3 separate regions of the Homo sapiens genome follow, and regions 2 and 3 are each linked to region 1. Evidence: promoter capture Hi-C in 16 types of primary human blood cells and fetal thymus (Javierre and others, 2016). All regions are on one chromosome and are shown on one strand. The core of a region is centred on a gene start or on the middle of the fragment in contact, and the rest is flanking DNA. Distances in the headings are between cores, read along the strand shown.

What was found. The method cuts DNA at HindIII sites, captures the fragments that hold promoters and counts their contacts. A CHiCAGO score of 5 or more calls a contact.
Region 2: a contact is called between a fragment that was not itself captured here and the fragment with the promoter of KCNIP2 in region 1, in 12 of 17 cell types (naive B cells, total B cells, fetal thymus and 9 more). The highest score is 18.4, in naive B cells.
Region 3: a fragment that was not itself captured here is called in contact with the fragment with the promoter of KCNIP2 in region 1 in 5 of 17 cell types (naive B cells, total B cells, endothelial precursors and 2 more); the score reaches 9.9 in naive B cells.

The regions. Positions count from the first base shown.
Region 1 is chr10:101,841,430-101,845,703 of GRCh38, reverse strand. KCNIP2 (potassium voltage-gated channel interacting protein 2) reads left to right here and starts at 1,904. Exons shown (of 10, transcript NM_173191.3): 1 at 1,904-2,208. The coding sequence starts at 2,136. It overlaps ARMH3 (armadillo like helical domain containing 3), which reads left to right. Exons shown (of 26, transcript NM_024541.3): 26 at 1-105. RefSeq lists a silencer at 1,682-1,931 and an enhancer at 1,887-2,392. The HindIII fragment of the contact is 15,452 bases long and covers 1-4,274 here.
Region 2 is chr10:102,075,395-102,079,668 of GRCh38, reverse strand. No RefSeq gene overlaps it. Among named protein-coding and RNA genes, the nearest start is that of HPS6, 12 kb to the right of the region's middle. The HindIII fragment of the contact is 7,564 bases long and covers 1-4,274 here.
Region 3 is chr10:102,026,148-102,030,421 of GRCh38, reverse strand. It overlaps ARMH3 (armadillo like helical domain containing 3), which reads left to right. Exons shown (of 26, transcript NM_024541.3): 5 at 677-784. Among named protein-coding and RNA genes, the nearest start is that of ARMH3, 28 kb to the left of the region's middle. The HindIII fragment of the contact is 2,439 bases long and covers 1,126-3,564 here.

The sequences.
Region 1 (4,274 bases), core at 655-3,154:
GCCTGGGGCATTTAGTGTTTTCCCTGGTGATAAATCCCCAAGGCAGCTGGATTTGGAGCTGGTGGCAAGTTGAAATTATTAAAAATTGATTTGTGTGGGACTGTCTTTAGTGTTGCTTTTTTTTTCCTTAATCTCTGTTGCCCAGACTCATTCCTCAAAGATAGAGGTAAGGTAATCTCCTAGGTGCTGCTGCCATCTGGCTAGGGGACCCCTACCTGCCCTTGTGAACTCTCCTCCTTCCTCTGAGTCTCCTGGCCCTAGTAGAGGTCAGTTGGGTTCGGAGAGCTGTAACCTCTCTTGTCCTCTGGGTAGAAGGAGGGAGAAGAGAGTTAGTTCCCTTATCTCCAAACTTAGTGGTATTGAGGAGGCAAGCCAACCCATTTGGCCACTTACGGATTCCTGCCAGCCTTTCCTCCAAGTGAATGAGGACAGGTCTAGGGCATGGGGCACTAAGCAGAGGGCTCCTTGCCCTCCATTGTAAAGGCCCTTCTCTTGACCAGTTTATTCACATATACCTATCCCAGAACTCCAAACGAGAGTGCCCATTCTCTCCTGGAAATCAACCTTAACAGGAGCTGCCCAAGCACTTTCTATGCCCAGCCTCTATACCAGGTCTGTGGAGCCTCCTCCAGAGCCAAGGGAGATCCAAGCGCAGGGCATTGCTCCTAAAGACAATCTTACCCTCAGCCACTTGTCCCCCTCTTAGGCCTGAACTCCCGCCACAATTCCTGCTGGGTTGATTAAATCAAGTGGTTGGAAATTAAAGCCAATTGAAGAGATTAAGTGTGCTTGAGTCACTTTAAAGTTTTTGGTCTTAACAGGTCACTCCTTTGGACCCACCAGACAAGGTCCCCTCATCCTCATAGCAACGGGTTGGGGGGCTTTTGGGTGTGGAGCCCAGGAAGCATCCTGAGGAAGGTCAGACCTGTGACGCTCAAAACACTCAGGATCCATTCCTGGGAGATGAGGCAGCCCAGCTTCCGTGCTAGCCCTGCCTTTGGAAAGGAGCTAATCTTAAGGAAGGGGTTTCATAACAAGGGCATTTCTTTCCTACTCTGTATCCTGACTTGGATCCCCAAACCTGTCAGTTGCTCCCCATATCTGCTGGAAAACAAGGAATCTAGGACAGGACAGGTGACAAAAGAGAAGGGCAGAAAAGTTGCTGCAGGGGAGGAACAAAAGAGCAAGGATGTCTTGAGAAACTGACCTGGTTCACTAGTTTTTTTATCTTCCTAGTCGGCCTATGGGGTTCATTAGATCAGTGAAGGAGGCACCCTGAGAGTGAATAGGTTCCAGAGACGGGGTCCTGGAGTGGGTGAGAGTTGGGGTCCTTCTGGAACTTGAGAGAAGATGAAACAGTAGTCCATTGGCCCACGATGAGCCTGCTAATATTAGAGGCTGGGTTGACTCTTCCTTTGCATCCCTAACCTGCTTTAAGCACGGTGGGGACTGTCTGGGACCACGAGAGACGCATACACGGGAGGAGGAACAACAGAGAAAATACAGGCTGACATGGAGACAAACGGAGCGGGGACTCAGATATGATACCCCAGGCTCTGCCTCAGCCAGAACTGTGTTGACGAAGGGGGACGGGGTGCCTGAGAATTGGGGGCGGGGTTTCCTCCTCTCAGTGGGGCTCTTCTGTCCCGCGCTCTCCTCCTCCCCCACCCCCCCCCCCCGCCAAGCCCCGTGACTTCTGCTTTAGGGGCAGATTGCTGGGGAGCTAGTCTCCTTCCCCGCACTTTGCAGTTCACCCTTTCACCGGGTGCCTCCCCCGGGCTGCAAAGGGTGGGGGGCGGGGGTAGGGGGAGCCAATCCCGGCAGCGCCAAAGAGGGGAGGAGGCGGTGACAGCCGCGGGGAGGGGGCGGGAGGAGAGAGGCAGCTCGGCTCGGCTCCGCGCTCAGCTCCGCTCTGCCTCCGGCTCTGCGCTCACCTGCTGCCTAGTGTTCCCTCTCCTGCTCCAGGACCTCCGGGTAGACCTCAGACCCCGGGCCCATTCCCAGACTCAGCCTCAGCCCGGACTTCCCCAGCCCCGACAGCACAGTAGGCCGCCAGGGGGCGCCGTGTGAGCGCCCTATCCCGGCCACCCGGCGCCCCCTCCCACGGCCCGGGCGGGAGCGGGGCGCCGGGGGCCATGCGGGGCCAGGGCCGCAAGGAGAGTTTGTCCGATTCCCGAGACCTGGACGGCTCCTACGACCAGCTCACGGGTGAGTCAGTGACGTGGGGGTCGCGGGAGGGAGGGTGGATTCCATTCCTCCAGACCCTTCCGCCTCTCCGACCCCGGCCTGGCCCGCACCCACACTCTGCCCCATTCCCAGGCACTCTTATGGCCGGTCTGGGCGGCAGGACACTGGGGGTTCAAAGCCTTGGGTCCCGCAGGGGTTGGGGAGGAACAGAAGAGGCAGGTGTGGAGAGGCAGCAGGTGTGGGCGTATGTGACACAGGGCTGAGAGGGTGTCTGGAGTGGGAGGTGTTACGTGCGTGAGCACCTGTCATTCTGTGTGTGTGTGTGTGTGTGCGCGCGCACCTCCCACAGCTGGTTGCCATGTGCCCTGGGCTTGGTGACAGCTAGGGTGAGTGTGATTGTATGTGGCAGTGCAATTGTATGGTCTCGTCAGATGTTTGAGTTTGCGTAGGACCCTGGTTGTACTGATGAAGTTGTTTTGACCATGTGTCTCTATGTGCAACGATGTGTTGTGAGTGTGTAATTCTGTATGAAGTGGTGTGTAACTACCAGAATGTGTCAGGGCTCTACTTTAGGGTGGCTTGTCTCTTTGTAAGCCTTCATGACCATAAGCCCTCTGGGCAAGAATTTGTTAAAGTAGGTTGTGTTGTGTTTTGTGGTTGTGAGATTAGTGTTCAGTGCTAGTTGTGTACTTTCATGTGGTGATGTCTGCAGCGGGGCTCTGTGAGTGTCTATGACGTGTCTCATCCCTGCTGCCTCTCTGGCTTCCTGGTACAGATAGGGGTCTTTAGTACACCCCACTCCTTCACCAATTTTTCCACAAATAGCCCAGGTGGACCCAAGGAGGGACTTTAGTGTTCAGCTGCCCAGTCTGGTTTCCAAGAGACCTTATGGCTCCAGCACCTGGCCCCTGTAGGGAGGCTTTAGTTAGTGCTGGGTCAGCCCTCTCTCCCCACACCAAATCATGTACTGAGATTATTCTTACAACTGAATCCTTCAACCCCCAACAAACCTTTCAGAACTTCACTCAAACCCCAGGAAAACACATCCTCTTCCTTCCCCTCCAGAGACAGAGCTAGAAGCTCTAGGCCTGGGAAGTGCCATGTGGTGTCCTGCATGTCCACCAAACCACTTGGCTGCCCGGGCATCCTCTCTTTCCCACATGGGGAGGTATGTGAGGCCAGTACATCTGTGCATGTGCATGTTCCTGGGTTTGGTAGGAAGAGCCATGTGTTTGTGTAGGTGACTGTGTCACCCTGGGTACATTTCCATGTATGTGTTTGTGTCTCTCATTGTGCAGCCTGCTCTAGAAAGCCAGCAGAGTGGGAGGAGGGAGGCTGTCTCCCTGAGGCCAAAACAAAGCTGGGGAGGTGGAGGGAGGCCATGATCCTTGTCCTTCCTGAGGGGAGTGAGATTGAGACCTGGGAAGGGGGAGGGGACTAGGATGAGGTGCCTTGAGCATGTGTCTTCCCCCATCCCCCATCACTGTCCCTAGGGAGGCCCTAGTCAGGATCAGGGGAGCCACTCAGGCTGGCCCCAGATGAGAGACCATGCCAGATGTGCCTCAGAGCTGGATGGAATCCAAAGGACCCACTGTCCAGCTCTTCCATGAATTCTGTTCCCATCACCAGCTTAGGATTCTTGAGAGTAGTAAGGGCCTAGGGGCCTTCAATAGTATCACATTAGTCAGTGTTTGCTTCCAGCTTTAATGGGTTCTCACCCTTAGTGAAACCATCCCTTCCCCACTTGGCTATTTGAATGAGATTGGGTGGGGGAAGCATTTGTATTTGGAGATGCCCTGCCCCAGTTCAGTCAGGAATGGAAGTGTACCAGCTATGTGACTTTTGTTCTCTTGGCCTCACCTTTCTCATCTGTAAAAGGGAATGTTACTTCCTGCCTGCCTGCCTACCTCCCAAGGAAAATGGAAAGGTCAAATGTTGACAAGTATCAAGAATTGTGGTCCGGGTCTACAGCAGCCTAGCTGTAGATAGCTCCACACACGACTTGGAAAGTAGAAATAGGACTACCAGGAGCTCTCCTCTCGAAGGGCGGCTTATTTTATAGCGGGAGACAAATCGGGTTGGGACGC
Region 2 (4,274 bases), core at 1,041-3,540, 230 kb before region 1:
AGAAGCCCTTGTATGACAAGGAAGACCTTGATTCGCAGCCTGGTCCTCAGGAGCCTTTAAATTGAGATAGGGCTGGGTGTGGTGGCTCACACCTGTAATCCCAGTGGAGGACTGCTTGAGCCCAGGAGTTGGAGACCAGCCTGGGCAACATGGTGAAACCCTATCTCTATTTAAAAAAAAAAAAAAAAAGAGACAGGCCCACAAATGTTGATGACAAGGAACGGTCAGCACTGGCAAACATCCAGACCACTATTCTCTACAGAACAATGCGAGGACATTGGTCAGGATTTGGAAGAGTAAGGGCATTCATGTCAGAATTTGGAGGGGTTGGTTCTGCCTTGACAAGGCAAGTGAGGCAAGCCAGACATCTAGTCCTAATATATATATATTTGTGTGTGTGTGTGTGTGTGTGTGGAGATGGAGTCTTGCTCTGTCGCCCAGGCTGGAGTGCAGTGGCGTGATCTCGGTTCACTGCAACCTCTGCCTCCCTGGTTCAAGTGATTTTCCTGCCTCCCAAAGTGCTGAGATTACAGGTGTGAGCCACCGCACCCAGCCTTGTCCATCTTTTTTTTTTTTTTTTTTTTTTTTTTTTACTTTCCTCAGCTCCCAGATGTAAAAGAACAGGTATCATTGTTGAATACCTTTTTGAAAATGAACCTCCATGTGATCAACAACAAAATGGGACTGTTCTCTAGGATGGGAGGTGTCCCAATATGGGTGGGGAAGCCATCAGGGTTAAACCCCTAGGAAGATCCTTCTGTCAATTCAAGCTAGCTCCCTGAACACTGTTTTGTCCTATCTTACAAGGACAAGACCATTCAGCTGGGTTCCTTTTCTTTCCACTCTGGCGATTCCTCTCCCCTCCCCTCCCCTTCCCTTTTCTTTCTTTCTTTTTTTTTGAGGCAGGGTCTCTCCCTGTCACCCAGGCCGGAGTACAGTGGTGCAATCACAGCTCACTGTAGCCTTGACCTCCTGGGCTCAAGCAGTCCACCTCAGCCTCCCGAGTAGCTGGGACTATAGGTGTGCACCACCATGCCCGGCTAATTTTTTTTTACTTTTCATAGAGACAAGGTCTCACTATGTTGCCCAGGCTGGTCTCGTACTCCTGAGCTTAAGTGATCTTCCTGCCTCGACCTCCCAAACTGCTGAGATTACAAGTATGAGCCACTGTGCCCAACGACTCTGGGGATTTTTTTCCTGAACTGGGAGCCATATAATATCCAAATTGATAATCTGCACCCTCTTTCTTCCTTCCTACAAGCTGCAAGAGCCTCAGCCTGCTTACTGTCTACTTACTCAATCCCTGGGACTCCTCATTCCTCTAGATTGGAAGCTGAGGGGGGTACCATCTCCTCAGCTCTCCCCACACTTATTTGCCTCCCTGTTCACATCTCCCTAAAGAAAACTACATGGTACCTTTTCCTTTGAAGGATTTTACAGTTGATCATTGTGGGGAAAGAGACCCAAGGTTACCAAGTCGCTAGTCTGGGGGAAGGTGTGAAAATTTAGGAAATCTAGGAAACTTCTGCCAGCCCTGGTCTCTAGAATGAAAGGGCAGCCAGTAGTGTGGCTCTTTCTCCTCTCCTCTTAGTCCTGGCTTGAAGACACCAAGCAGGGCAACTGTTCATGTCCTCCTTGCCTCAGACATGACTGCATTTGAGCTTCTTCCAATTGGTTATTTATTTATTTATTTATTTATTTTTCTTGAGACGGAATCTTGCTCTGTCGCCCAGGCTGGAGTGCAGTGGCGCGATCTCGGCTCACTGCAATCTCTGCCTCCTGGGTTCAAGGGATTCTCCTGGCTCAGCCTCCCAAGTAGCTGGGATTACAGGCACCCGCCACCACACCTGGCTAATTTTTGTATTTTTAGTAGAGAGGGGGTTTCATCATGTTGGTCAGGCTGGTCTCAAACTCCTGACCTCAGGTGATCTGCCTGCCTCAGCCTCCCAAAGTGCTGGGATTACAGGCGTGAGCCTCCGTGCCTGGTCCTAATTTGTTATTCTCACCTCTGTATTTCCTCAGCCCCATGCGGGAACAGACCCCTTAAGGAAATATTTCTAGGAGAGCCACAAAGACTAAAGAATCTCAGTCCAAGGAGGTCTTAGTAGGGCTGACCTCCAATCTCCCTTTTCCTATAATCAGTCCCATGGAGTTGGGGTTAGAGAAAATTGCGATATTATCAGGGGACCCGTAGTCTCTCTATGGTACCCCAAAAATAGTGAACAAGAAGGCACAGATGTTGTAGTAGGTATGGGATGGGGGTATCTTCTGAGCTCCAGATCCCACTTTTACATTACCATCCCATTTCTACCATCTGCCCCCATCATTGTGAATACGCAGCTGGAAGACATTGGGATGTCAACAGAATTGATGAAACAGAAGATTTGCTGAATTCAAATTTTAAGAAATTTGGCCAGGCATGGTGGCTCACTCCTGTAATCCCAGCACTTTGGGAGGCCAAGGCAGAAGGATCACAAGGTCATGAGATGGAGACCATCTTGGCCAACATGGTGAAACCCCATCCATACTAAAATACAAAAAAAATTAGCGGGTATGGTGGCACACACCTGTAGTTCCAGCTACTCGGGAGGCTGAGGCAGGGGAATTGCTTGAACCCAGGAGGTGGAGGTTGCAGTGAGCCAAGATCACGCCACTGCACTCCAGCCTGGTGACAAAGCGAGGCTCCATATCATTTAAAAAAAAAAAAATTGGGGCCAGATGTGGTGGCTCATCCCTGTAATTCCAGCACTTTGGGAGGCCAAGGAGGGTGGATCACCCGAGGTAAGGAGTTCGAGACCAGCCTCGCCAACATAGAGAAACCCTGTCTCTACTAAAAATACAAAAATTAGCCAGGCGTGGTGGCTGCGCGCCTGTAATCCCAGCTACTTTGGAGGCTGAGGCAGGAGAATCACTTGAACCCGGGAGGCGGAGGTTGCAGTGAGCTGAGATCGCGCCACTGCACTCTAGCCTGAGTGACAGCAAGATTCCATCTCAAAAAAAAAAAAAAAAAGAAATTTGGTGTACTGATAGACTCTGTGGATTTGACTATTAATATGCACAAGTTCAGAATCCATCCCTTTGAGAGACAGGGATATGAGCACTGACCTGGGATAGATGTGAGGAAAGAAAAGGGGTGACCAGGGCTTGACAGGGTATGATGGGCAACTGAAGCTGGGCGACAGAGCTGGGAGGCACAGGGCAGACTTGCAACTGACTGAGATCTGCTGCTCTTTTGTTTTCTTTTTCTTTTCTTTTTTTATTTTTATTTTTATTTTATTTTTTGAGATGGAGTCTCATTCTGTTGCCCATGCTGGAGTGCAGTTGTATAGTCTCTGGTCACTGCAACCTCTCATTCCAGGTTCAAGCGATTCTCCTACCTCAGCCTCCCAAGTAGTTGGGATTACAGGCACATGCCACCACGCCCAGCTAATTTTTGTATTTTTAGTAGAGATGGGGTTTCACCGTGTTGGCCAGGATGGTGTCGATCTCCTGACCTTGTGATCCCCCCGCCTCGGCCTCTCAAAGTGCTGGGATTACAGGCATGAGCCACCACTCCCGGCCAGCCTTTTTTTTTTTAATAGATGAGGTCTTGCTCTATCACTCAGGCTGAGTAGCAAGATCATAGCTCTCTGCAGCCTCAAACTCCTGGGCTCAAGTGATCCTCCTGCCTTAGCCTCTTGGTAGCTAGGATTACACTGCTCCCAGACCTTTTGTTTTATTGATGACTCCTCAGCTGTCCCCTGCCTCCTTGACCCCTTGGAGCTTAGATTCCAAAACACTATTCAGAAGAGAAAAATGGATGGACCTCAAGTTCTCTTCTGGTGTTCCCTCATGCCAAGCACTGAGGTCTCTACCCCTTGTGGGTCTGACTGCTGATATTAAGGGGATGATGAACAGGCTAACAGAGTGAGAAACATGGGATCAAGAGCCCATTCCCAGCTCCAGTTAGATTTGCCATGAAAACAAAACCACAACCCTTCAACGTTTTCTGGGGCCACCTGGGAAGGTGCTGCATTCTACAAAGAGAAACTCTATCATTTATTAGAGAAGCCACAGAGGTTTAGGAAATCCAGTGTTCCCTCCCTCCTTTCCTCCCTCCCTCTCTCTCTCTCTCTCTCTTTCTGACAAGGTCCTGCTCTGTCACCCAGGCTGCAGTGGCATGATCTCGATTCAGTGCAGCCTCAACCTGCCAGGCCCAAGTGATCCTCCTACCTCAACCTCCCGAGTAGCTGGGACTACAGGTGCATACCACCATGCCTGGCTGATTTTTTGTA
Region 3 (4,274 bases), core at 1,096-3,595, 180 kb before region 1:
ATTAATTTTAAATAAAGGAAAACTCCACCAATCCCATGATTGAACTCAAGAACTATTTTTAATCTTTGAATATCACCTCCCAGTCTGCTTTATAATTTTTAAAAACAAGATGACAAGAAAATAAAAAATGAGGATGACAGCAGTCTCAGTTACTGTTCCTCTTTTATTTGCTGGATTTTGCACATACTGAGACTCAGACTGGGCTGGGCACAGTGGCTCACATTTCTAATTCCAGAACTTTGGGAGGCTGAGGCAGGAGGATCACTGGAGCCCAGGTGTTGGAGACCAGTCTGGGCAACATGGTGAGACCCTGTCTCTACAAAAAATAAAAAAATTAACCAGGTGTGGTGGAGCACACCTGTCATCTCAGCTACTTGGAAGGCTGAGGTGGGAGGATCACCTGAGCCCAGGAGGTCAAGGCTGTAGTGAGCTGTGATTATGCCACTGCACTACAGTCTTGGTGAAGAGCGAGACCTTGTCTCAAAAAAAAAAACAAACAAACAAAAAAACCGAACCAAACGGAAAAAACCAAAAAAACTCAGACTGTGTTTTGGAGCTCAGAACTCAGAGAAATTGAATTTATTCAGTGTCAGCTGTGTAAGGATGAGGCTGCAATGTGGGTCTACAGACCCTGAGACTTCCTCTCCAGAAAGAATTCTTTCTCTCATTTCTGCAGACCCTGTGCGCACTCATTCGAGGAGTCCATCAAAAGAATAAGTCTACCTCTGGGTTTGACATTATCAACATGCTGATGGGCTTTGACAAGGCGGAGCTGTGCATGAAGGTGAGGCATAAGCTGCAGATGTGCCTGTGGATGGCAGCTTCTGACAGCTGTTCCTGGACACTATCAGCAGACAAATGTACTCAAAGATTTGGACTCAGAAAGATACAGATGATTGAATTTGGCCTTGCATTTAGATGTTTTTATTTCACAGATTTGCTTTATCTGAATAAAGGAAAATTTTAAATTCAAATTTGAATGGAGGTATTCTTTCCCTGCGGGATAAAGACAGAATAGTTTATTTTATTACTCGTATCATATGATCATACATTCTTAAGAACATTTATGAATTTAAATAAAATATAACAACATACAAGGGTAACTTTAATTCTAAACTTTAAGCTTATTTAACACAATTACTTTGATTTTATCAGAATTTTTCTTTCTGCTGTTTGACACTATCTTTTTAAAATAACAGCCTTATAATTCATATAGCATAAATCCACCCTTTTAGATTGTACAATCTGACCAGGCGCCATGGCTCATGCCTGTAATCCTAGCGCTTTGGGAGGCCAAGGCAGGCGGATTGCTTGAGCTAAGGAGTTTGAGACCAGCGTGGGCAACATGGCAAAACCTCGTCTCCACAAAAAATACAAAAATTATCTGCGTATGGTGGCACGTGCCTGTAAGTCCCAGCTAGTTGGGGGAGGCTGAAGTGGTAGGACTGCTTGAACCTGGGAGGTGGAGGTTGCAGTGAGCCAAGATCATGCCACTGCACTCCAGGCTGGGCAACAGAGCAAGACCCTGTCTCAAAAAGAAGAAAATAAATAAAGTGTACAATCCAGTGGATTTTAGTATATTCATAGAATTATACAATTATCATCACTATTAATTTCAGAACATTTTCATCACCCTAGAAAGAAAACCTGTACCCATTAGCAGTCATTCCCCAATTCTCCACTCTTCTCAACCCTTGGCAAGCATTAATCTGCTTTATGTCTCTATGGGTTTAGCTGTTCTGGACACCTCATATAAATGGAATCATATCATATGTAGCCTTTTGAGTCTGGCAGTTACTTCACATAATGTTTTTGTGGTTCCTCCATATTATAGGATGTATTAGTATTTCATTCCTTTTTATTGCCTAATAATATTCCTTTGGCTGGAGATACTCACTATATTTTGTTTAGCCATTCCTCAGTTGATAGGTATTTGGGTCCTTTCAACATTTTGGCTATTAGGAATAATGCTGCTATGAATGTTCATGTATAAGTTTCTGTATGGATGTATGCTCGTATTTATTTATTTATTTATTCATGAGATGAGGTCTTGCTATGTTGACCCAGCTGGTCTTGAACTCCTGGCCTCAGGTGATCCTCCTGCCTCAGCCTTCCAAAGTGCTGAGATTATAAGCATGACCCACTGCACTCAGGCCACACATATGTTTTAAATTCTCTTGGGCATATACCTAGGTGTAGAATTGCTGGGTCACATGGTAACTCTATATTTGACATTTTAGGAACTACCAAACCATTTTTCCATAGGGGCTGTTCCATTTTATAATTTCACTAGCAATGTATGAGGGTTCAAGTTTCTGCACATTATGTCAACAGTTGTTTTTGTCTGTCTTTTCTTTATTTTTTTTTTTTGGAGAAAAGTCTTTCATATCCTTTGTCCATTTCTAGATGGGGGTGTCTTTTTTTGTTGAGTTATAAGAGTTCTTTTCGTATTCTGAATATGTCCCTTATCAGATATATGATTTGCAGTGTTGGACACCATATTGAATGAATGTTATTTGAACTTTGAAGAACAGTCTTCTGTCACTCATTAAATTTAAAATAAATCTGTATACCAGAGAATCTTTATAATGATTAGGTTACAAAAAAAGTTATTAATATATAATTATAAATATACAAATATTTAATACTTAGAGTTATTTTTAAATTCTGGCCTTTTGCAGTTCATATATATGTCATGGTAAAATCCCAGATAGCTCCTCATTCTCATAATTCTAACTACTGCTTGTATGTTGATGACTGCTAAGTGTCTGTCTTTAGCCTTAATGTCTCTTCATGATCTCAGAGTTGTATCCTCTGCAAGTACTTGCTGAGTGTACTCACTGACACATCCCATAAGTACTTCTTGCTTGATATATCCAGAATGGAGCTCACTGTTTCTCCTGCATCTCTTCTTCCTCATTCATTCTCTTTCAGAATGGGAGCAGCTGTCTTCACAGGCCCCACGCTGTGATGAGGGGACTTCTCATCTTTTATCTCCAGATGATCACCAAGTTCAGCTAATTTTACCTCAGTTCATATTCCTCATACTTGTCTTCTTCTGTTACCACCATCTCTATTATGCTATCTCTCACCAGAACTATTACAGTGATGCCTTCATTCATTCTTTTTTTTTTTTTTTTTTTGAGACGGAATCTCACTCTGTCACCTAGGCTGGAGTCCAGTGGTGCAATCTCGGCTCACTGCAACCTCCCTGTCCTGGGTTCAAGCGATTCTCCTGCCTCAGCCACCTGAGTAGCTGGGATTACAGGCATGCGCCACCACACTCAGCTAATTTTTGTATTTGTAGTAGAGACAGGGTTTCACCCTGTTGGCCAGGCTGGTCTCGAACTCCTAACCTCAGGTGATCTGCCTGCCTTGGCCTCCCAAAGTGCTGGGATTACAGGCATGAGCCACTGCACCCAGCCCATTCATTCTTTTGACAAATATTTGTTGGGCCCCTATATGCCAGGTACTGTGGTAGGCACTGAGGATACAAGAGGCAAATAAGACATGGCAACTGTCTCAGGAAATTGAAGTCCTCATTAGTCTCCATGCTTACAAGCTTACCATCTTTAAATCCATCATCCACACTGACACCACAACTGTGTGGCATTAGTGTATATATCTTACGCTAGTGTGTACATCTTTCCTGCTTAAAATCCTTCATTAGTCTCCTGTCACTAACAGGATAAAGACCAAACTCCCTAGTTAGACTTATAAAACTTTCAAAATCTGCACCATATTTACTTCCCCAGGCTTATATCTCACCACTGTGCCTCATTCTTTATACTCCCTTAAAAACAAACTACTTTTATTCCAACCCCACACCAGGGCCATTTCTTTCCTTATGTGTCTTTGATGATGCTAATACCTGTCTGGAATTCCTTTCCTCCCCAATTCCTATTGAATTTTCAAAATATAACTCACTCCTGAGGGGTCTTGGAATAGGTGACTTTAGAGCAAATTCCATTCCTCTGTGTATATTTCCATCATAGTAACCACTGAATTGAAACTGTTGGCTTGTTTTTCTCTCCCATAAGACTAAAAGCACCTTGAGAGCAAGGGTCATGGTCTGAGTTTTTTCGTATATTCTTTTAAAGCACAATATTCAGCACAGAGTAGATGCTCACATATTTATTGAATTGAACTGAAGCAGCTTACCTTGGCCTTCCAGCATGCTTAAATCCTTATTCTCCATCTATTCTCCTTCCTCATTTAATGTAGAATATTTCTTTTCATCTTCTCTTTATTGTAGTATACAAGGGTTTCATCTT